4 separate regions of the Homo sapiens genome follow, and regions 1, 2 and 3 are each linked to region 4. Evidence: promoter capture Hi-C in 16 types of primary human blood cells and fetal thymus (Javierre and others, 2016). All regions are on one chromosome and are shown on one strand. Each heading gives the region's core, a stretch centred on a gene start or on the middle of the fragment in contact. The rest is flanking DNA. Distances are from core to core; before and after follow the strand shown. Region 1 has its middle 18 kb from the start of ALOX15B. Region 2 has its middle 5.2 kb from the start of TRG-GCC2-6. Region 3 holds the start of ALOX12B (arachidonate 12-lipoxygenase, 12R type). Region 4 holds the start of SPDYE4 (speedy/RINGO cell cycle regulator family member E4).

What was found. The method cuts DNA at HindIII sites, captures the fragments that hold promoters and counts their contacts. A CHiCAGO score of 5 or more calls a contact.
Region 1: a fragment that was not itself captured here is called in contact with the fragment with the promoter of SPDYE4 in region 4 in 2 of 17 cell types (total B cells and naive CD4 T cells); the score reaches 5.6 in total B cells.
Region 2: a contact is called between a fragment that was not itself captured here and the fragment with the promoter of SPDYE4 in region 4, in 1 of 17 cell types (neutrophils). The highest score is 5.3, in neutrophils.
Region 3: a contact is called between the fragment with the promoter of ALOX12B here and the fragment with the promoter of SPDYE4 in region 4, in 4 of 17 cell types (erythroblasts, total CD4 T cells, naive CD8 T cells and 1 more). The highest score is 7.2, in erythroblasts.

What each region holds. Positions count from the first base shown.
Region 1 is chr17:8,054,976-8,059,999 of GRCh38, reverse strand. No RefSeq gene overlaps it. Among named protein-coding and RNA genes, the nearest start is that of ALOX15B, 18 kb to the right of the region's middle. RefSeq lists enhancers at 2,253-2,322, 1,806-2,323. The HindIII fragment of the contact is 2,579 bases long and covers 270-2,848 here.
Region 2 is chr17:8,128,293-8,133,610 of GRCh38, reverse strand. No RefSeq gene overlaps it. Among named protein-coding and RNA genes, the nearest start is that of TRG-GCC2-6, 5.2 kb to the right of the region's middle. RefSeq lists an enhancer at 1-6. The HindIII fragment of the contact is 6,180 bases long and covers 325-5,318 here.
Region 3 is chr17:8,086,344-8,091,543 of GRCh38, reverse strand. It overlaps ALOX12B (arachidonate 12-lipoxygenase, 12R type), which reads left to right and starts at 3,828. Exons shown (of 15, transcript NM_001139.3): 1 at 3,828-4,248. The coding sequence starts at 4,102. It overlaps MIR4314 (microRNA 4314), which reads right to left and starts at 3,488; the gene lies at 3,397-3,488. RefSeq lists an enhancer at 4,052-4,800. The HindIII fragment of the contact is 26,367 bases long and covers 1-5,200 here.
Region 4 is chr17:8,756,134-8,761,875 of GRCh38, reverse strand. SPDYE4 (speedy/RINGO cell cycle regulator family member E4) reads left to right here and starts at 3,330. Exons shown (of 7, transcript NM_001394956.1): 1 at 3,330-3,602; 2 at 4,384-4,614; 3 at 5,440-5,498. The coding sequence starts at 3,494. The HindIII fragment of the contact is 1,936 bases long and covers 2,870-4,805 here.

The DNA of each region.
Region 1 (5,024 bases), core at 310-2,809, 700 kb after region 4:
CTCTCCCCTACAAATTAATGGGAATGAAAGTAATCATAGGTTGGATGGTGACTTCCTGCCCATCTGGTCTTAAACGATGTAAAATTGTAGCACTTTGATAGACTTCAGATGCTGTGCCTACTCCAATCAAGCCCATAGAAGCCTTTTGTCGGGGCCACGCTTTTGGCCACTGATTTAGAGCTATAATTGAAATATTAGCACCTGTGTCTACCAGTCCTTCAAACTGTTTTCCCTGAATCATTGTGCACACAGGTCTGTTTTTAGAAGCTTGATTTACTCAATAGGCTGCTTTTCCTTCACTGTCAGTACTGCCAAAACCACTTTCTCTTTTTACTGTACTTTTTTCTACTATTACATAAGGTAATAACAACAGCTGAGCAATTCTATCTCCTGGGTTTGCACTCCAAGGAATACTGGAACTAATAACCAATTGAATTTCTCCCACAAAATCTGAATCAATCAGCCCAGTATGAATCTGAACTCCTTTTAAGTTTAGACTAGATGTTCCTAAAACAAGTCCAACTGTCCATCAGGTAAAGGGCCAAATACTCCAGTGGGGACTTTTTGAGGGGATTTCCCTGGAAGCAGAGAGATAGCTTTTGGGAAACATAAATCTAAGCCTGTACTCCCTGCTGTAGCTGGCGCCAATTGTGTTACTGTGGTGGTTGGGCAAGAGACAATGATGGTGGTTGGACTAGAGGCAATGACCGACTGAGGGACCAACTGCTGGAGTGAGAATGCCCCCGTTTGGAGCGGGGCCTGAGGCTGGCCCCTCTTCCTGTTTCCCGACTGCGGTTGTAACGGTTGGCCATTTTTGTCAAATTTGAAGTGACACTGATTAGCCCAATGTTTACCCTTCTGGCACCTGGGACATAAGCCAGGTGGTTCTTTTATTTGATTATATCTTGCCTGTTTGTTCGATTTGTTCTTACGTTCCTTTTTTGTGTGTCCAAATTGCCCACAATTGTAACAATTGCCTGAAAAGTTTTTAATTGGACCTCCCACTTTTAACTCTGTCGTGGCTTGAACCATTATCATAGCCTTATGCATGATTCCACCAACTCCATTACATGCCCTGATATATTCATTAATCACATCAACTCCCACCGGAACCTTTCCTTTCACTGGGTGAATAGCTGACTGGCATTCAGGGTTAGTATTCTCACAAGCCAATAATTCTACAATCACCTTCCTGGCACTTTCTTTCTTTCTTTCTTTTTTTTTTTTTTTTTTTGAGGCGGAGTTTCGCTCTTGTTACCCAGGCTGGAGTGCAGTGGCGTGATCTCGGCTCACCGCAACCTCCGCCTCCTGGGTTCAAGCAATTCTCCTGCCTCAGCCTCCTGAGTAGCTGGGATTACAGACATGTGCCATCACGCCCGGCTAATTTTTATATTTTTAGTAGAGACGGGGTTTCTCCATGTTGGTCAGGCTGGTCTCCAACTCCCGACCTCAGGTGATCCGCCCACCTCGGCCTCCCAAAGTGCTGGGATTACAGGCATGAGCCACCGCACCCGGCCTTCCTGGCACTTTCATCAGTGAGAGCCTTCTGTGCTGCGTCTTGAAGGCGAGCAATGAAATCAGGATATGGTTCCTTTGAGCCTTGTCTAATAGAATTAAAAGACTGATAAGTAGTTCCCAGATCCTGAATTTTCTCCCATGCCCTCAAACAGCAATTGCGAATTTGTTCAATGGCATCATCTCGAAGTCCTGATGGTTGTTTACAGTTCCCCATTGACCCCCTATTCCTAGAAGTTGTTCAAATGTAATGGCAATAGCAGGATTAGCAGCACGGTTTTTTCGATCTTGATTTTGAGCCTCGTCGGTCCACCAAGTCTTAAACTGAAGAAATTGGGAGGGCGAAAGTGTAACTTTCGTTAAAATCTCCCAATCACACGGAGTCAATAGCTTATTCTGAGCCACAGATTGCAATAGCGATCGGATGAAAGGCGAATTGGGACCATACTGACCAACAGCTGCTTTAAGATCTTTGAGCAGCTTAAAAGAAAATGGTTCCCATACCGCTTGATGGGCTCCACCTTGCTGTCGTGGGGGTTGCAAAACTACTGCAAACTGCCAGGCATCAAGATCTCCGGCTAATCTAGCCTGCCGAATAGTAAACTGTAATGGCGATTCATTAACATTAGATGGCAGTGCAGCCTTATGTTGTACTGGTGCTACACCATGCGCTCGTGGTTCCTGAGGCCACAATTCATTCATTCGTGAAACAGGGCAAATTTGAGATTCAGACCTCCAAGGCTCCAAGCTACATTGCTTTATTGGAGGCGGCCACTCCGGATGATCCCAATGAGGAGCCGACTGCTCCTCAAGGCCCTTCTTTGTTTTAAACATCTTGGCATATATGGCTTCTCTATTTTAGGAGCAGCTGAAGGTCCCACGTGCTCCTCAAAAGAAATTAACTCATCTCCAGGTTTGTCTGTATTTTCCTCAAAATCTTCTTCACTATCCTCTCCTCCTTCAGCAGCATCACCACCTTCCTCTGCAGAAATTCTTTCTGCTGGAGGATAAGCCTCATTTTCCGATTGAAACGGTTCCGAGGCTGCTTTAACTATAGCCCAGTTTGACCAGGCTGTTAGGGGGATAAATTTTCCTTCCTTACAAACTTGTTTTAAGGCAATTCCCACCTGTTCCCAATCTTTGAAGTCCATGGTACCATGTTCAGGAAACCAAGGACGATATTGCTCTACTGTTGGAAACAGAGTAATCAAATTTTCTGTGCTAGCCTTAATTCCTGCCCTCTTTAAGAGGAGCTTAATAAAATGTAAATATGCAGAATGTTTACTTTTGGATTGTCCCATGGTGTCCCTGGAATGCTCCGAGTGCACAAGCTTACCGCAAGGCCGACCACACGTTCTCGGGAGTTCCTGGACAGACCGTTCTTCACAACGACCACGCTCAGGTGTAACTTCACCTGGGTTCAAGGAGACCGTGTTGGGTGCCAAAGATGTAGGGGAACCTGCCTGATACACCACCCGCAGGCTCTCCCCTTCCCGGTGGAGACGAGGGAATGAGAAAAGAAATAAAGACAAAGACACAAAGTTTAAGAGTTAACAAAAGTGGGTCCAAGGATCCATCGCAACGTGGAGATTGCAAAGGCCAGGAGCTCTGGGTTCCACTGATATTTATTGAGTACAGTTCCTTTGATCCTATAGGCTGAGGGTGGGCTGATGGTGAGGTGATCATTGGGTGAGCATAGGGAGAGGTGGCGGAGCCTGCTGTGTCGGTCATTAGCCAGTTAATACTATTTACTGTTCCACTACGTAAGCTAATACTCTATGTTTAACTTACAGATAATCATCAGAGTCCAACTAAGCGGCTAATAGAACAGAACAGGACGTGAAAGCAAACAGCCCTTCAAACCCACAGGCCTGTACATCAAAGGAGTGGTCAACGCCTGAGCACCGTCAGCAGAGCAGCTGCTTTGCCTCTGGGAACATGCGGGAGATAGGAGGCTTCCTCCTTAACCCTACTGCAGAGGACTTCTCCTCTTTTACCAGCAGCCTCCTGCAGTACCCTCCCGGGTAATGGAGCAGGGGTCGCTTCCCTTCCCATGAGACCTTTGTTCAGGCACTCAAGTGGAAGGTTGAGCAATAAGCCAACTTTCTTGCTCAGAGGCTCCGCAGACTTCCTGTGGTTGTTTGTTCCACTCTGTGGTCAGTCAAGCAAGCTCACCGCCTGATTCTCTTATTGTTGTACTAAGCACAAGCTATTATACTTATGATTCATAATCATATTAGTAAAGCACTATTCTAAAGCATATACTATTAATCTTTAAATGGGCACAGTGTAGGCTGGTCCTCAACCACCTGGGCCCACATCCAAGCCCCCTATTTCAACCCACACATCCCTCTCCATTTCTGCCACTTTTGTCTCTGTCCCAGGCTTCAGCACCTTCTTAGGTCAGTGGGGGATGCGGGTGGGGACAGAAGAGTCTGTTTCTCATTCCCTGGGGTAGTGAGCAAAGGCACCCCTGGGATGTCCAACATGGATGGGGGTGCGGTGAGGGGAAGGCGGGCACAAAGATAAAGAGGAGGCTGGAAGAGGACCTGGCAGAGAGAAGAAGGGATTGGGGTTCTAGGCACTGTTCTGGGGTGGCACAAGCAGCTCTCCCTCCACCCTGGGAGGGATTTCAAACAAATTAAAAACATGGTTCATACAAATTAGAATGTTCACAAGTCAAATATTTTATTCGACTCAGCCAGATGGTCATGCTGGTTTCAAGAACAATTGAGGAGCCGGGCACTTACAGGCAATTTAATAAAGGAATGTTAGGACACGATTGTTGGGTTAGATATGAAACTAGTCAACATTCTACAGAGCAATGAACTATAATCTCCAGTTTATTTGCTTTTAAAAAAAGGAACAAATCATTTACATGAACTTCACATAAATCGAGGCCTTTATTAATAACACACAGAAAAGTCAAACAGTGGTATGCCGTGCTAGAAAATAAAGCATCCCTCCCAGCACTTTGGGAGGCCGAGGTGGGAGGATCACTTGAGGTCAGGAGTTCGAGATCAGCCTGGTCAATATGGCGAAACCCCGTCTCCACTAAAAATACAAAAATTAGCCGGGTGTGGTGGTGGGTGCCTGTAATCCCAGCTATTTGGAAGGCTGAGGCAGGAGAATCTCTTGAACCCGGGACGCGGAGGTTGCAGTGAGCTGAGATGGCACCATTGCACTCCAGTCTGGGTGACACAGTGAGACTCTGTCTCAAAAACCAGAAACCACCCCCCCAAAAAAAAGAAAGAAGGAAAACCAAAAATTAAAGAAAAGAAAACATCTTTAAAAGGACAGGCAGTTGTCCTCTTGATTCTATTCATCAGTTTTGGATAATTTTTCTTAACAAGGCTGTTCCCTGTGAGTACCTCAAGCAATCAAATAGATCTCCTTTTCAGGGTTTCACCTCTCTCTCTTTCTCTCTCTCTCTCTCTCTTAGTTTAAGGCTCCCACTTCTTTACTCCTCAATGTGGCCCTGCTGTACAATCCCACTCTCCTTCTCAAGC
Region 2 (5,318 bases), core at 2,165-4,664, 630 kb after region 4:
TCCTTAAGCCCAGCGCACGTGGGACACGAGCTCCCCTCCCCCAAGCCCCAGTGTGGCCCACTGTTGAAAGGGCAGCCAGGAAGAGGCTGGAGGCTCAGACGTCCACACACACGCCATTAGGCCACGGTATAAATGGACACAGCCACAAACTGTGTCAGGCCCACGCTGACACAGAGGCGTGCAACCACACGGAGACCCCCACTGACACTCTGTGACACAGATACGCTGGGGATAGGAGTGGGAGAACATCTTCATAGGCCACATCTGCACTGGACCAACGAGCTCCAGAAAATTACCCAGACCTAGGTCCAGGAGTCTGAAGCTTAAATGATTTAGAAGGGGGAGGTGTGGAGGGAAACAACTATTTAAGTGTTTAAGGAAAAATATGGCCAGGTGTTGTGGCACAGGCCTAGAATCCCAGCGCTTTGGGAAGCCAAGGCCAGAGGATCGCTTGAGGCCAAGAGTTTGAGACCACCCTGGGCAACATATTGAGACCCTCATCTCAAAAAAGAAAAAGAAAAAAAAAAAGGGAAAAAGTACAAAATTAGGTACAAAAAGTAATATTTAGAGTGAAATGAGAGATGGCAACAACTTACAAATTTTAAAAGGTGACAAAGGCCGGGAGCGGTGGCTCATGCTTGTAATCCCAGCACTTTGGGAGGCTGAGGCGGGCGGATCATGAGGTCAGGAGTTCGAGACCAGCCTGACCAACATGGTGAAACTCCATCTCTACTACAAATACAAAAATTAGCTGGGCGTGGTGGCATGCGCCTATAATCCCAGCTACTCAGGAGGCTGAGGCAGGAGAATCGCTTGAACCCAGGAGGCGGAGGTTGCAGTGAGCCAAGATGGCGCCATTGCTCTCCAGTCTGGGCGACAGAGCAAGACTCCGTCTCAAAAATAAATAAGTAAAAATAAAATAAAATAAAAGGCAAAAATTTCACACTGTCCAGAAAAATAACTTAACAGTTTTAATTTTTTTTCTTTGAGACAAGGTCTCACTCCTGTTGCCCAGGCTGGAGTGCAGTGGCACAATTACAGCTCACTGCAGCCTCGACTTCCCCAGCTCGGGTGATTCTCTCACCTCAGCCTTCCAAGTAGCTGAAACAGGAACAGGCCACCATACCTGGCTAATTTTTTTTTTTTTTTGTATTTTTAGCAGAGATAGGTTTCACCGTGTTGCCCAGGCTGGTCTCAAACTCCTGGACTCAAGCAGTCCACCTGCCTTGACCTCCCAAAGTGCTGGGATTCATATGTGAGCCACTGCACCCAGCCAGCTATTTGTAGTACTTACTGCCCACACACCTCTATAGCACTTTCCATAGACTAGCTGCTAACTCTCTATATTTCAAATCTTGTTTCTCCTCTACCACCCATGACTCATAATGTCAAGAGCCATCAGACATTCATATCACATGTGTCTCTGGCCCTGCACACTTCCAGCACGAAGCCTAGTGACTGGGCAAAGGAAATAGGAGTATCCCTGGAAGCCATTCCTACCCTAGATGAGGAGGCTAACTTAACTCAATATTGGCTGAGAACCGTGGCTCATGCCTGTAATCCTAGTACTTTAGGAGGCCAAGATGGGAGGATCACTTGAGACAAGCCTGGGCAACATAGTGAGACCCCAGTCTCACAAAAAATTAAAATTAAAAAAAAAAAATACCTGGGTGTGGTGGTGCATATCTGTTGTTCCAGCTACTCCAGAGGCTGATGTAGGGGGATTGCTTGAGCCCTGGAGGTTGAGGCTGCAGTCCCACCACTGCACTTCAGCCTGGGGGACAGACAGATCAAGACACCCTGTCTCAAAAACAAAGCAAAACAAACAAACAAAAACACCAAAACCCCAAAACAAAAAAAACCTATATATGGAAGTGACTACAAATCATCTAAATGTATCCCACAAATCCAACTCACCTTCTCCACAGCTAGATCCCCCAAAATGCTCACAGCCAGCCACTGTAACACTGGGGATGAGTGGTGATGTGATGGACGGGCCGCAGGAGCAGCCAGAGTAGAGACTGGCCTTTGTCAGTTGCAGTGAAATGCCGAAGGTATGCACAATTTGTTTTTTTTGAGACGGAGTCTTGCTGTTGCCCAGGCTGGAGTGCAGTGGCATGATCTCGGCTCACCGCAACCTCCACCTCCCGGGTTCAAGCAATTCTCCTGCCTCAGCCTCCCGAGAAGCTGGGATTACAGGCACCACCACCATGCTCGGCTAATTTTTTTTTTTTTTTTTTGAGATCTGCCCACCTCAGCCTCCCAAAGTGCTGGGATTACAGGTGTGAGCCACTGTGCCCGGCCTCCCTTATTATTTTTAATTGACAAATAATTATATGTATTTATGGGGTAAAATGTGATGTTTCCATATAAGGATACATTGTAGAACGATTAAATCAAGCTAATTAACACATCCGTCACCTCATCTACTTATTTTTTCGTGGTGAGAACATTTAAAATAGACTTTTGAGACTCTGTCTCAAAAAAAGAAAAAAGAAAAAGGAAAAAATTACTTATTCTTGTTGGATACAGGTTAAAAAAAGAAAAAAGTGTTCATTCACTTATTATTATTATTATTTTTGAGATGGAGTCTTGCTCTGTTGCCCAGGCTAGCATGCAGCAGCGCTATCTCAGCTCACTGCAAGCTCCGCATCCGGGGTTCACACCATTCTCCTGCCTCAGCCTCCCGAGTAGCTGGGATCACAGGTGCCTGCCACCATGCCTGGCTAATCTTTTTTGTATTTTTAGTAGAGACGGGGTTTCACCGTGTTAGCCAGGATGGTCTCGATCTCCTGACTTCCTGATCTGCCCACCTCACCCTCCCAAAGTGCTGGGATTACAGGTGTGAGCCCCTGAGCCCGGCCTCACTTATTATTTTTAATTGACAAATAATTATATATATTTATGGGGTAAAATGTGATGTTTCCATATAAGGATACATTGTAGAATGATTAAATCAAGCTAATTAACACATCCATCACCTCATCTATTTATTTTTTCGTGGTGAGAACATTTAAAATAGACTTTTAATAATTTCATAATATACAATACGTTATTACTAACCATGCTGTGGAATAGATAGCAAAATCTCCTTCTTCATACACCCTCTTTTCTGGATTTCCAGAACACCCCACTCCCCCTGGTTTTCCTGTTGCCTCTCTGACCGCTCTAGTCTCCGTTGCCAATTCTTCCTCCTCAACCAATCTCTAGGTGTTGGGGTGCCCCAGAGGTCCATGTTCAGCCTTTTCTTTTCTTCTTCTTCTTTTTTCTTTTTTTTTTGTTTGAGACAGATTCTCATGCCCAGGCTGGAGTGCAGTGGCTCAATCTCGGCTGACTGCAACCTTGGCCTCCCGGGCTCAAACGATTCTCCTGCCTCAGCCTCCTGAGTAGCTGGGACTACAGGCGTGCGTCACTATGCCCAGATAATTTTTCTATTTTTTGTGGAGACGGGGTTTTGTCATGTTGGGCAGGCTGGCCTCGAACTCCTGACCTTAGGTGATCCACCCGCCTCAGCCTCCCAAAGTGCTAAGATTACAGGCATGAGCCAACACACCCGGCCCATGTTCAGTCTTTTCCCGCCACATTTTCTCTCTAGGTGCTCCAGTCTTATAGCATTAAAAGACGTCTATCTCCCAATCACTCCAGCGTATTTACCCTCCAGCTCTGATCTCCAAACTTGTATATCCCTAACCTATGTGTGACCTCCACCTAGATATCTTTTTTTTGAGCGGAGTCTTCCTCTGTTGCCGAGGCTGGAGTGCAATAGCGCAGTCTAGGCTCACTGCAACCTCTGCCTCCCGGGTTCAAGAGATTCTCCTGCCTCAGCCTCTGGAGTAGCTGAGACCACAGGCGCATGCCACCATACCCAGCTAGTTTTTGTATTTTTAGTAGAGACGGTGTTTCACCATGTTGGCCAGGTTGATCTCAAACCCCTGACCTCGTGATCCACCCGCCTTGGCCTCCCAAAGTGCTGGGATTACAGAAGTGAGCCACCGCGCCTGGCCAGGATGTCTTAACTAATATGGCTAAAGTATAATGCTTGATTTCTCTTCCTAAACCTCTCCCCGACCCCACAGGTTTTCCCATCTCAGTTAAAAGCCACCACCACCGTCTACCCAGTTACAGTCATGCGCTGCATAACAATGTTTTGGTCAATGATGGACTGCATATATATATATATGATTATAATGGGGATTGCCGGATGCAATGGCGTACGCCTGTAATCCCAGCACTTTGGGAGGCCAAGGCGGGCAGATCACTTGAGGTCAGGAGTTCAATACCAGCCTGGCCAACATGGTGAAACCCTGTTTCTACTAAAAATACAAAAATTAGCCGGGCGTGGTGGCTAATGCCTGTAATCCCAGATATTCGAGCAGCTATTCGAGAGGCTGAGGCAGGAGAATCGCTTGAACCCGGGAGGCAGAGGTTGCAGTGAGCCGAGATCCCACCATTGCACTCCGTCCTGGGCAACAAGAGCAAGATTATAATGGGGCTAAAAAAAAATCCTTATCGCCAGGCTCGGTGATAAGCACTTCGGGAGGCCGAGGCTGGCAGATAACGAGGTCAGGAGATCGAGACCAGCCTGAGCAACATGGTGAAACCCCGTCTCTACTAAAAATACAAAAGTTAGTGGGGTGTGGTGGCACAGGCCTGTAATCCCAGCTACTCGGGAGCCTGAGGCAGGAGAATCGCTTGAACCCGGCAGGCGGAGGTTGCAGTGAGCCGGGATCGCCCCACTGCACTCCAGCCTGGGCAACTGAGTGAGACTCTGCCTCAAAACAAAAAGGAAAAAAAAACCCGAAAAATTCCTATCACCCAAAGATGGCATAGCTATCATAACATTGTAGTGCCATGCGTTACCTTTTAGGTACACAAATGCTTACAATTGTGTACAATTGCCTCCAGCATTCAGTACAGTACCATGCTGTAGCTGTACAGGTTTGCAGCCTAGGAGCACAATAGGCTGTATAGTGTAGCCTAGGTGTGTAGAAGGCTCTACCATCTAGGTTTACATCACTACACTCTGTGATGTCTGAATAATGAAATTGCCTAGCAACGCATTTCTTTGAATATATCCGCACGTTAAGCAAATACATGATCTTACCTAAGACAAAGACCTAGGAGTAACCCCTTCATGTTTTCTCTCCCCACCACCACCTCAAGGCATTGCCTAAAAGACTGCTTCAGCCCCCTGAATGAGCCCTCTGCCTTCATTCTCCAAATAGCAACAAAAGCGATCTTTTAATTTTATCTATCTATCTATCTATCTATCTATCTATCTATCTATCTATCTATCTATCTAGAGTCTCGCTCTGTCG
Region 3 (5,200 bases), core at 2,579-5,078, 670 kb after region 4:
CCTGGTCCAGGAGAACCAGTTCTTCAGCCCAATGAGCACCTATCAAGAGTCACGCGTCTACGTTTTGGTCATAGCTGGGGAGTGCCCCATCTACATCCTCATGCCTGATCCCGTCCCTGTCCCTGCCCCAGCCACATTGACATCCTCAGCATCCCTGCCTCCATCTCCGTCTCCCTCAGGAACCTAATTCCCACTCCACACTGGAGCCCTGAGCAAACCCAGGGCCACCCTGGGATTTGGGTTGGAGGAGACCTATTGGTAGCAGGATATGACTCAGTTTGCCCAGTCCACTGCCCTGCTTCTCACCAAGCCTCAGCAGCCCCCTGGGGACACAGGGCAAAGGGGAGAGATTAGAAAGAGGAAGCTGGGAGAATTTGCATGGAATTTGCATCTTAAGATTTGCATCTTCAGGCTCCCAGCATCCTCCAAGAGTCATCGAGGTGGTTGAGGAGGGAGATCCCAGGGGGGAGATCCAGCTGGACGGCTTCTGTCTGCAGCCCAGGACAGCCAGCCCTGCCACCCAGAGCTGGGCACAACCCTCATCCTCAGCCTTCTCCCCTCTCCTCCCTCCCTCCCCACCCAACCCCTTTCCCTCCCCTACACCACGCCTTGCCCCTTCTCTCACCCTGAGCCCAAGTCAGCTCTCTTCGGATCTTCACCATAACTCCAAAGCCATCATCGATTCAATCCCCAGCCCTGACCTTGTCCTTGTCATTAACCCATTCAACTATGTTTTCGGTGTCTCCCAGGTACCAAGTATGACACCAGGAGATGGGGACAAAACCAAAAAAAAGTATGGACTAATTTATTAGAGAAAACAGACATCAATCAAAGATGTTAGCTATAGTGCTGTGAGAGCCATGTATAGTGAAATTTGGCTTTCCTGGAAAAAGCAATTATTGAGCTAAGATCAGGAGGAAGAGGAAACGTGACCTCAGTTTGAGAGGTAGAGAGGGAACAGCATGTGCCAAGGCCCTGGGATGGTGACGAGCTGACTTCACTTCCTTCAGGTCTTTACTCAAAAGTCTTCTTCCCAAGGAGCCCTCCTTGGCCACTCTGTATCTAAAATATCCTCCTTTTCTTTTTTCTGAGATGGATTTTCGCTTTTGTTGCCCAGGCTTGATAGCAATGGCATGACCTTGGCTCACTGCAACCTCTGCTTCCTGGGTTCAAGCTATTCTCCTGCCTCAGCCCCCGAGTAGCTGGGATTACAGGCATGCGCCACCATGCCCGGCTAATTTTTATTTTTAGTAGAGACGGGGTTACTCCATGTTGGTCAGGCTGGTCCCGAACTCCTGACCTCAGGTGATCCGCCCACCTCAGCCTCCCAAAGTGCTGGGATTACAGGCATGAGCCACCATGCCCGGCACTCCTCTATTTTTTATATTATCCTTCCCTGTTCTCTCTTTTCTCTTCAGCACTTATCACTATTTAACATACTATTTAATGTATTTGGTTACTAGGTAATATTGTCTGCTTCCCTCACTTGAAGGCAAGCTCCATGGGTGCAGGGGTTTGCTTTGATCGCATTGTATTTTCAGGACCTGACACAGCGCTGAACACACAGTAGGGGTTCGGCCAGTGTCTGTTGATGAATGAATGAAAGGCACGTGGTCCCAGACAGAAGAGAGCAAAGGGGAATGTGAGGGGTGAAGCCAATCAGGCAGGCCGTGGGGGCCACGGGAGGGGATGGTGTCACTGTCCCAAAGGTAAAGAGGAGCCACTGCCAGGCTTGATCAGGGTTGGGAGGAGGGAACATAGAGAGTGATGTGAACAGATTTGGGTCTGGAAAAGATCATTTCAATCCCCAACTCCAGCCACATCTGTGTCTCTAACCTAAACCTGAATTGCAGTTTCGACCCCATTCCACATCCAGTCTGGAACCTACTGGAACCTTCTCTTCATCTCACAATCCCAGCCCCCTCTGACCCTAACTTGGCCTGGGCATTGAATGACCTTCCTTCGATGGTGATGGAAGCGTGCCATCAGGGAGGAAAGCAGGGCTATGCTTCCTGGTTGACAGAAGCTGCTCCTCGGAGGTGAAAGGAAAGAGGACAGGTCCAGAAAAAGGGAATAGGAACGTGCCTGCCTCCTCACTCTCCCTGGGTCCCAAATCCTATCTTTGGAGAGTCTATCTCTGACTCTCTCATAATGCTCTTCACCTTACTCCTAACACCTTCTCCCTATCCTGCGGCTCTGACTTCTGTGATTCTATCAGCAACTAGTTCCCAATCCCAACCTCCCACGCTTATTTTCTTCAGAGCACTTAGTATCCAAAATTATAGTGAACAAATTCTTGTTTACTGTTTCTTTCACTTCTTTCCCAGCTATTCCGTAAGCTCCATGTATGTTTCATTTCTTCTCTGCCTCTGCAGTGCCTAGAACGCCGTGCACCGTGCTCACTACATATCTGAGGGAGGAACGACCTGGTTCCCAACAAACACAGTTCCACTGGAGCTCAGCCCTGCCTCCAGCCCTCTTCCTAGCTTCATTCTTTTTTGGGAGGGAAGTGAGGGTATGTACTTTATGAAATTAAAGGATAACACATAATGAAATGAATGAAGTACCCTAGACGCCCCTCAGATCAAGATAAGAACACCTCCAGCAGCCTATATGGCCTCCCTCTGCCAGGGATACTCACCAGTAGAGGTTGTCTGAGAATTGCTCAGTTTTGCTGGTTCTGGAAGTTCCTATCAATGGATAACAGAACGTATCCCCTTTAATGTCTGGCTCTTTTTGCTCAGTATCATCTTTGTGAGACTCATCCGCATTGCAGTTCATTCTTTTTATTCCTGGGTAGAATTCTATTTTATGATTATACCACAAAATATTGATCATATTAATCCATTATTTAACTTAATTCTTTTGTCTTTTTTTTTTGGAGACGGAGTCTTGCTCTGTTGCCCAGGCTGGAGTGCGGTGGCACGATCTCAACTCACTGCAACTTCCGCCTCCTGAGTTCAAGCGATTCTCCTGCCTCAGCCTCCCAAGTAGCTGGGACTACAGGCGCATGCCACCACGCCTGGCTAATTTTTGTATTTTTAGTAGAGACAAGGTTTCACCATGTTGGCCAGGCTGGTCTCGAACTCTTGAGCTCAGGTGACCCACCTGCCTTGGCTTTCTAAAGTGCTGGGATTACAGGCGTGAGCCACCACGCCCAGCTATTTAACTTAATTCTTATGCCCCAGATTTCACTCTGTCTTCTAATTTAGTTTTTTTTTTTTTTTTTTTGGGCTTCTGATTTTATATCCAACTCCAATCCCTCACCAGTGGATCCTGGCCCCACAGGAAGCAACAGATCCCCTTCTCCTACCCTGATCGTTCCTCCCCGCAGCATCTTCAGGCCTTTGGGCACCCATGTGGTCCCCGAGCCCTAGCTTCAACACCTCCCACCCTTCCAGTCACAGACTCTGGGCCCTGGGGCAGAAGGACAGGCCAGCTTTCTCACTGTGGCCACTACCTGTCCCATTTCCCAGAGAGGAATGGCCTGGAGGCTGGCCAGCTGCGCTGCCACTTAGTGCCCCTCCCCCTCCCCTCCCCCGCCCACCAGTGGCCTCAGAACCAATGCAAGTCACTCACTGCCCATGGCCCTGCTTAGTAGGGGTGCCTGGCACTGTAGCCAATGGGGACTGGCAGGAGGAAGGAGCTTATTAGTCTGATAAAGATCTGGGGACCACACCCTGCCCCCTCCCGCAACTTCCCTAGGGCCCTGGCTCAGGCTGGACTGGCTCCCCCACCCTGAAGGCGCCTTCATCCACGGCATCTTCTATCCGCCCTTTCAGAGGCAGGCCCAGTGCCCTGCCTGCTCTTCCTCCCCACCAGCTCCCAGAAGGCTTGGAGCCCAGACACCTGCTCACTCACCACCAGCTGGGCTCCGCCTGGGCCTGCCCGGCACCCACCCCGGCCACCAAGGGCAGCAGCTTTTCCAGAATTTGGCTGGCAGGCCTAGTCACCCCACCTCGCCACCTCACCACTGCACCTCGGAGGCCAGCCCTGTCCACTCCACTCTGTGCCTGGCTTCTCTTGCCTGCCTTGGGCCTTCGTGTGGCCCCTCCACGGTGTCTGGGACTGAGTGCCCCTCTTGCCTCCTGAAGAGCAGCCATGGCCACCTACAAAGTCAGGGTGGCCACAGGCACCGACCTCTTGTCGGGAACACGGGACTCCATCTCACTGACCATTGTGGGGACACAAGGAGAGAGCCATAAGCAGCTGCTGAACCACTTTGGGAGAGACTTTGCAACTGGGGCGGTAAGAGTGTGTGTGTGTGTGTGTGTGTGTGTGTGTCTGTGTGTGTGTGTGTGTGTGTCTGTGTGTGTCTGTGTGTGTCTGTGTGTCTTTGTGGCCCCGGGAGGGGTGAAGGTGCGCAGGGGGAGCCAGGTGAGCTGAGCTTGGCGAGGAGAGGCTGGAGAGCTGAGGCACAGCTCCGAAGGCAGTGGGCTCCCCAGTGGCTCTACACGCCTTGTCCAGAGCTGGCTTCCAGCCCCTCGCCCATGTCCCAGATCTCTGGGCCATCCTTCTCCATCCTGCTCCTTCATCTCTAACCCTTTCAGGCATTCCTCATCTCCCTCCCCATCCTTTTCTTCTCTCTCCCTCTTCCTCAGCCCTCTCTCCCTGTCTCTGCCTATCCTGCATCTCTCTTTTCTCAATCCTTTCCACCTGCTTTCCTTCCCCTTTGCTCTCCTCCCCTTTCTGTCTTACCCCCTCTCCCGCATCCCTCTCTCTTCCATTCTCAGTCACTCTTCCTAATTCAGCTGCCTCCTAACTGTCTCACATTTGCACTGGATTCTCTGTGACTTAAAATGGCATCAGACCAGCCTGTCCAGTGGAAGGCACGCTTTGCGGGTCCTCAGACCTGATTTTCAGTCAGACCCAGCCACCTGCTGCTAGGCGACCTTAATAGGTCACTCTATCTATGTGGCCATTCTGAATATCTGCATCTTCATTGATGAATGGGAGAAGGGGCTGGCTGGGCCTCTCCCCACTCGAAAACTGTAGAGTGGTACCCAAGTCCCCAGGGGTCTGAAGGGTTCCTGCAACCTCAGGTGCCTGGAGAGGGGAGTGGGAGAAGACAGGAGCTGGGGATGGAGAGAAGGAGGGGCTGGAGTCCTACATAGCCCTGGGTAGAGGAATCCAGTAGGAGACCCCCAAGCTGGAGAAGTCAGAAGGAAGCTCAATGATCAGGTCAATATCCTGTCCCTCC
Region 4 (5,742 bases), core at 2,081-4,580:
TCTCTCACCAGTGGCAAAAAACAGAAAAGTATCCTTTCCATTGGATATCCTGCTACAGAATGAATTTTCACATTGAACATTTAATTTCCCATTTAAATAAATCCACCTGGAATTTGATTTGTATATGTCTGTTTTCCAAATAATGAGCTAGTTGTGATCGCATGATTTGTGGCTTAATCTCTACTTTCCCCACTGGGATATGCCATGACAGCATTTAATGCATTCCTATAGAAACTTGGGTTTATTCTGAACTTTCTATTCTCTTGATTGTATCAAGGATCATAAACTGGGACCCTGTAACCCGTTTCAGGCCTCCAGATCCAGATTTGTGTTTGGTCTTGTTTTGGTTTTGGTCAGAAGTGTCTTTGAAAATTGTGGATTTTCATGCCTTTAGGCAGCTCACAAAGTCAGGGCTATCTTAGAGCAAGATACTTGCCCAAGCTCTTAGAGCACTTGAGGATTTTGCCGGAGTGACACTAGCAACATGCTGTTTTAACACTTTCACCTTAGAACACATTTTGGTGTCTGGCAGTGGACATTCCCTCTCATTCTTCTTTTGTGATGGTTCCTTAAGTACTCAATTCTCTAGATAAACTTTTACATTGTTCTGTCAACATCTGCGGGGGGAAAAACTCTTTGAGATTCTGATTGCAATCGCATTAAATTCCTAAATTCATTTGGATTGAATGTACAGTTTTACCATATTGAAACATCATTTAGACATTTTGTAAGTCTCTATTCAGTTCTTTTATATTCTCAGTGAAAATTTTTAGTGTTTCTTCTTTTAATTGAGATGCAGTCTCACTCTGTCACCCAGGCTTGAGTGCAGTGGCGTTAACTCGCCTCACTGCAGCCTTCGCCTCCCAGGCTCAAATGATCCTCCCACTTCAACCTCCTGAGTAGCTGGCAGTACAGGCATGCGCCACCACACCCAGGCTAGTTTTTTATACTTTGGTGGAGACAGGGTTTCGCCAAGTTGCCCAGGCTGGTCTTGCACTGCTGCGCTCAAGCAATCCTCCTGCCTTGGCCTCCCAAAGTGCTGGAATTACAGTTGTGAGCCAATGTTAGGGGGCTTGTCGACCAGCATACAGGGGCCTTGGAGGCTGCTTCAAAAGTTCCCACTAAGCCAAGGATACAAAGCCTGGTGACAGCCCTCCCATGTGAGGCCCAGGTCTTACTTACCTCGCTCAAAAAATCTTTCCTGCTCATTTCATTCGAGAGTGATTTTGCTTTCTTTGGGATCTCTATTGCGCTGCCCCACCCAGAGAGTTCCAAATCTGAATGGACTCCAATGATGAAGTTAAATCAGCCCCCACCTCAGTCCTTTGGAATTAGAATCTGTGGGGCTGGGTCCTGGCATCTGTATCTTAATGTTCCTAGTTGAGATCCTTAGGCTGAAAGGCTGGTATTTGCAAAGCACTTCTTCTCCTCCAAACTCAGCCTCCGAACTAGCTGGGACTACAGGTGTGTGCCACCACACCAGGCTAATTTTAAATTTTTTTGGAGAGACGGAGTCTCACAACGTTACTCAGACTCATCTCCAACTCCTGGGTTCAAGTGATTCTCCAGCCTTGGCCTCCCAAAGTGTAGGGATGACAGGCAGGAGCCACCATGCCAGCCAATAAAGCCCTTCTGTTTCACTCTAATGATATCTTTGGTGCATAGCTACAGCCATTGTTGTATTAACCTGCATCACTGAAGGAAAAGAGAAGGGGAGAAGTGATAGTTTTGCTTTTCCCTGAACATATCAGATGAAACCTGAACTGTTTAGCTCATTTTTGGACAATGTATTGACATAATTTAAGATGGCTGCCTTATTGTAGCCTGTCTACAGAAGGTGCCTAGAAGACAGAGGAATATGTAAAACTGGCTTGAAGAGTGATTAATCAGAACTTTACGTGGTACAGAAGAGAAATTTTAATGGCAACAGAATATTGATCTTCTAATGTTTGAAAGCCTATTAAATAGGAGAGAAAGATGATTTTCTGTTTTGTTGTAAAAGGATCCAACCAGTTCTGATGGTTGAAAGCATCGTGAATGCGAAGGTCCACTCAATGTAAGCAGAGTTTCCTAACAATTGGACTTCCACAGCGACGGGATCTGCCTCCTCATTCAGTTGTGCCTTTCCCATCAGCGAGAGACTCCTAGGAGCCCATTAGGAAGCTGTGCCAGAACTCACAGGTTCTTTGGATGGTATCTGAGATAGTATCCAGCTCTTACATTTTTATTTTTTCCGAAAAAAATATTTTTGAGACTGAGTCTCACTCTGTCCTCCAGGCTGGTGTGCAGTGGTGCAATCATAGCTCACTGCAGCCTCAAACACTTGGGCTGAAGCAATCCTCCTGCCTCAGCCTCCCAAGTACTGGGACCACAGGTGTGTGCCACGATTCCTGATTACTTTGTTTATATTTTGTAGAGATGACGTTTTGCTATGTTGCCCAGACTAATCTTGAACTCCTAACCTCAAGTGACGCCCTGCCTTGGCCTCCCAAAGGAGGGAGATTATGAGCAGGAGCCCCTGGGCCTGGCTGAGATTTTCCCCTTAGTCTTTTTATACACAGGATATTTTATTCATAAAATACATAAATAGTAGGCAAATTTTGGGGTCAAGTGAAATAGATATGTTGTAATAGTTGATATATAGACCAGAGTTCCTTAGCTGAACTGGAGGGCAGGCTTTAGGTGATCCATGGATGCCCTGAACTTGTGGACACCATTGAAAATCTGTACGAAACCATGGACAGTCTCCTGTGATTTTCATTCCTCAAAATGTCTCTTGGACTCAAAGATGCCTGAGAGCAAAGGATGCATGTTCCCCTACTATAGGATCCAGGATAGTGAATATCAGTAAACATTCAGCAAAAAAGCTTTGCCACATTGAGTACTTCGACGTAACGTCTCCATTCAACAAGTCAATTTACCCAGGATCTCCTGTATATGTTAATCTCACTCTTGGAAGGACTCATCATTCTGCTTACCCTAAATTTCCTTCCACCTTCCTCCCTCTCTCACCAGACTAGACTCTGAAATGGGAAGGAGAAGCGGGGAGGAGAGCCCAACACCCCCTCAAGTTTAGAGTGGAGAGGACACAGCCTCTGCTGGGACAGGGAAAAGAGGAATGTGGAGACCCTGAGGATGCTTTTGGACAATGCTCAGAGGTTGGGACATTGCCAGGAGATACCGTTCACCCCGGATCTCCAAGAAAAGAGATCAGTCTGGCAGTTACATGTGTTTTTCTTCAAAGTAGTTGCCAGTTTGGAATGACCGATGACATCAGAGATTCCGACTTTCCTGATTGGAAGGACCGGACTCTGGTTGCTTGGGAGTTCAGGTGGACAACAGCAACTTCTCAGAACTACTCTTCACTCCTAACTTCTCCCGAGCCTCTAGAAGAGAAACGCACTCTTCTGGGTCCTAACGGAGTCTGGAAGAAGGCTTTGGACAGAACAGGGACTAGGTTTTGTGGACAGAAACAAAGTGTTTGGGAGAGATTATGGCCAGTGGTCAAGCGCGCCCCCCGTTTGAGGAGGAGAGCCCCCAGCCTAGCACAACGGTACGGTCCCCCGAGGTGGTGGTGGATGATGAAGTGCCAGGACCATCAGGTGAGGTGACTGGAGGGAGAAGCGATGGGAGATGATTGACTGAGGAGAGGGAAGGGGGCCAGTTACTGGGAATCTGAAGCACCTGAGTAGGGTGTGTGGGAAAGAAACGACGGACTCAGGAAGCCAGGGATCGGGGAAGGAGGGTGCAGGGAATGGGGCCAAGCATGGCCACGTGTAAAGAAAGTCTGGGGAGCAATGAAGGGGGTCAGGAGATGTGCTCAAAAGATGAGAGAGGAAGGCCGAGGCGGACGGATCACGAGGTCAGAAGATCGAGACCATCCTGGTTAACACGATGAAACCCTGTCTCTACCAAAAATACAAAAGTGAGTTGGGCATGGTGGTGCGTGCCTGTAGTCCCAGCTACTCAAGAGGCTGAGGCAGGAGAATCATTTGAACCCAGGAGGCGGAGGTTGCAGTGAACCAAGATTGTGCCACTGCACTCCGGTCTGGGCAACAAGAGGGAGACTCCATCTCAAAAAAAAAAAAAAGAGAGAGAGAGAGAGAGAGCAGACAGAGCTCAAGGGAAGGTTTCCATTTTTCTCCAATTGAAAGTTCTTATCTGTGATGAGGAAATGTTTTGAGGACAGAGAGCCGGAAGAATGGGGAGGTGAGGGAGAGGCAGATGGGGATCAGCAAAGGAGAAAGGTGGAAACATGGCTTGGAGAAGCTGACAGTCTGCGAGGCTTGGGAGGATGGAAGAGTAGTTTGAGGTTCCTGGGTCGGGGCGTCTAAGGTGATCAATGGCAGAAACATGACACCATGGCCTGGTTTCTTCACTCAGCCCCTTGGATAGATCCCAGCCCCCAGCCTCAATCCCTTGGCCTGAAAAGGAAGAGCGAATGGTCAGACGAATCCGAGGAGGAGCTGGAGGAGGAGCTGGAGTTGGAGCGCGCCCCTGAGCCCGAGGACACCTGGGTGGTGGAGACGCTGTGTGGGCTCAAGATGAAGCTGAAGCGAAAGCGAGCATCCTCCGTGCTCCCTGAGCACCACGAGGCCTTCAACAGGCTCCTTGGTAGGAGGATACCCCAAAAAGCACCTCCAACCCTGTTCTTTTAAAAAAGTGGAATCTTTCAATAATCACACTTTCCCAATAAGAAGAATATGCCCTCCTGGGGGATGAGCGCTCCATGCAGGAGGAGGATGCTTAGGAGATAGAGGATTAGGCTAGTCTTAATAAAGGTCTGCACTTGAAATAAGAAAGCTTGGTTTCTGGCCAGGTGCAGTGGCTCATGCCTGAGATCTTGGTGCTTTGGGAGGCTGAGGCGGGAGGATCTCTTGAACTCAGGAGTTTGAAGTTGCAATGAGCTATGATTGCACCACTGCACTCCAGCCTGGTTGACAAGGAAAGACCCTGTCATAAAATAAATAAAATAAAATAAAATAAAAGATAAAAGAAAGCTTGGTTTCAGCTGTACCCTCTGAAACTCTATGTCTCTTGATGACTTTTCTAAACCTAAGTGTCTCCATCCGTGGAGGGGGATAACAAGGCCATGGGCACACCCAGCTGTGACTATCTCAGGAAGCAATGATGGGAATTCTATTATGACTTCTGCAGTGGTCCCTTCCTGTCTGATGGGAGGACATCATGGCTTATTCACAGCTCTTCATCCTGTAGACTCTGACACCAGAGGCCTCCTTCGGCCTCTCCTCAGGGGAATCTCAGAGCGGGAGCCTCCCTCCTTGCCCAGTGAAAGTCCTTCTCTCCTCTCCCATCCACCTAAGCCTTGGCCACAATCCTGAGACTTCCCCCAGAGGGACACAGTTCTCCTCTCTGCTCTGCTGCTCCCACGGCAACCCTGTTCCACTTCTCACCCTGACACAGGCTCTCTTTTCACAGGGGATCCTGTCGTTCAAAAATTCCTGGCCTGGGACAAAGACCTGAGGGTGTCAGACAAGGTAAGGTTGTTCTCCACTCAACTGTGTTCCTGCTTTAACACACGTCCTGGGGAAGGGTGCAGCGTCTAAACCCACAGTTTCTCTCCTCTCTCCCTCTACCATCTCCCACCTGCTGATTCCATACTCTTGGGCGCCCACATTTTGATTTTTATTTTTTCAGAAACAGGGTCTCGTTCTGTTGCCCAGGCTGGAATGCAGTGTTGCCATCATAGCTCACTGCAGCCTCAGCCTCCTGGGCTCAAGT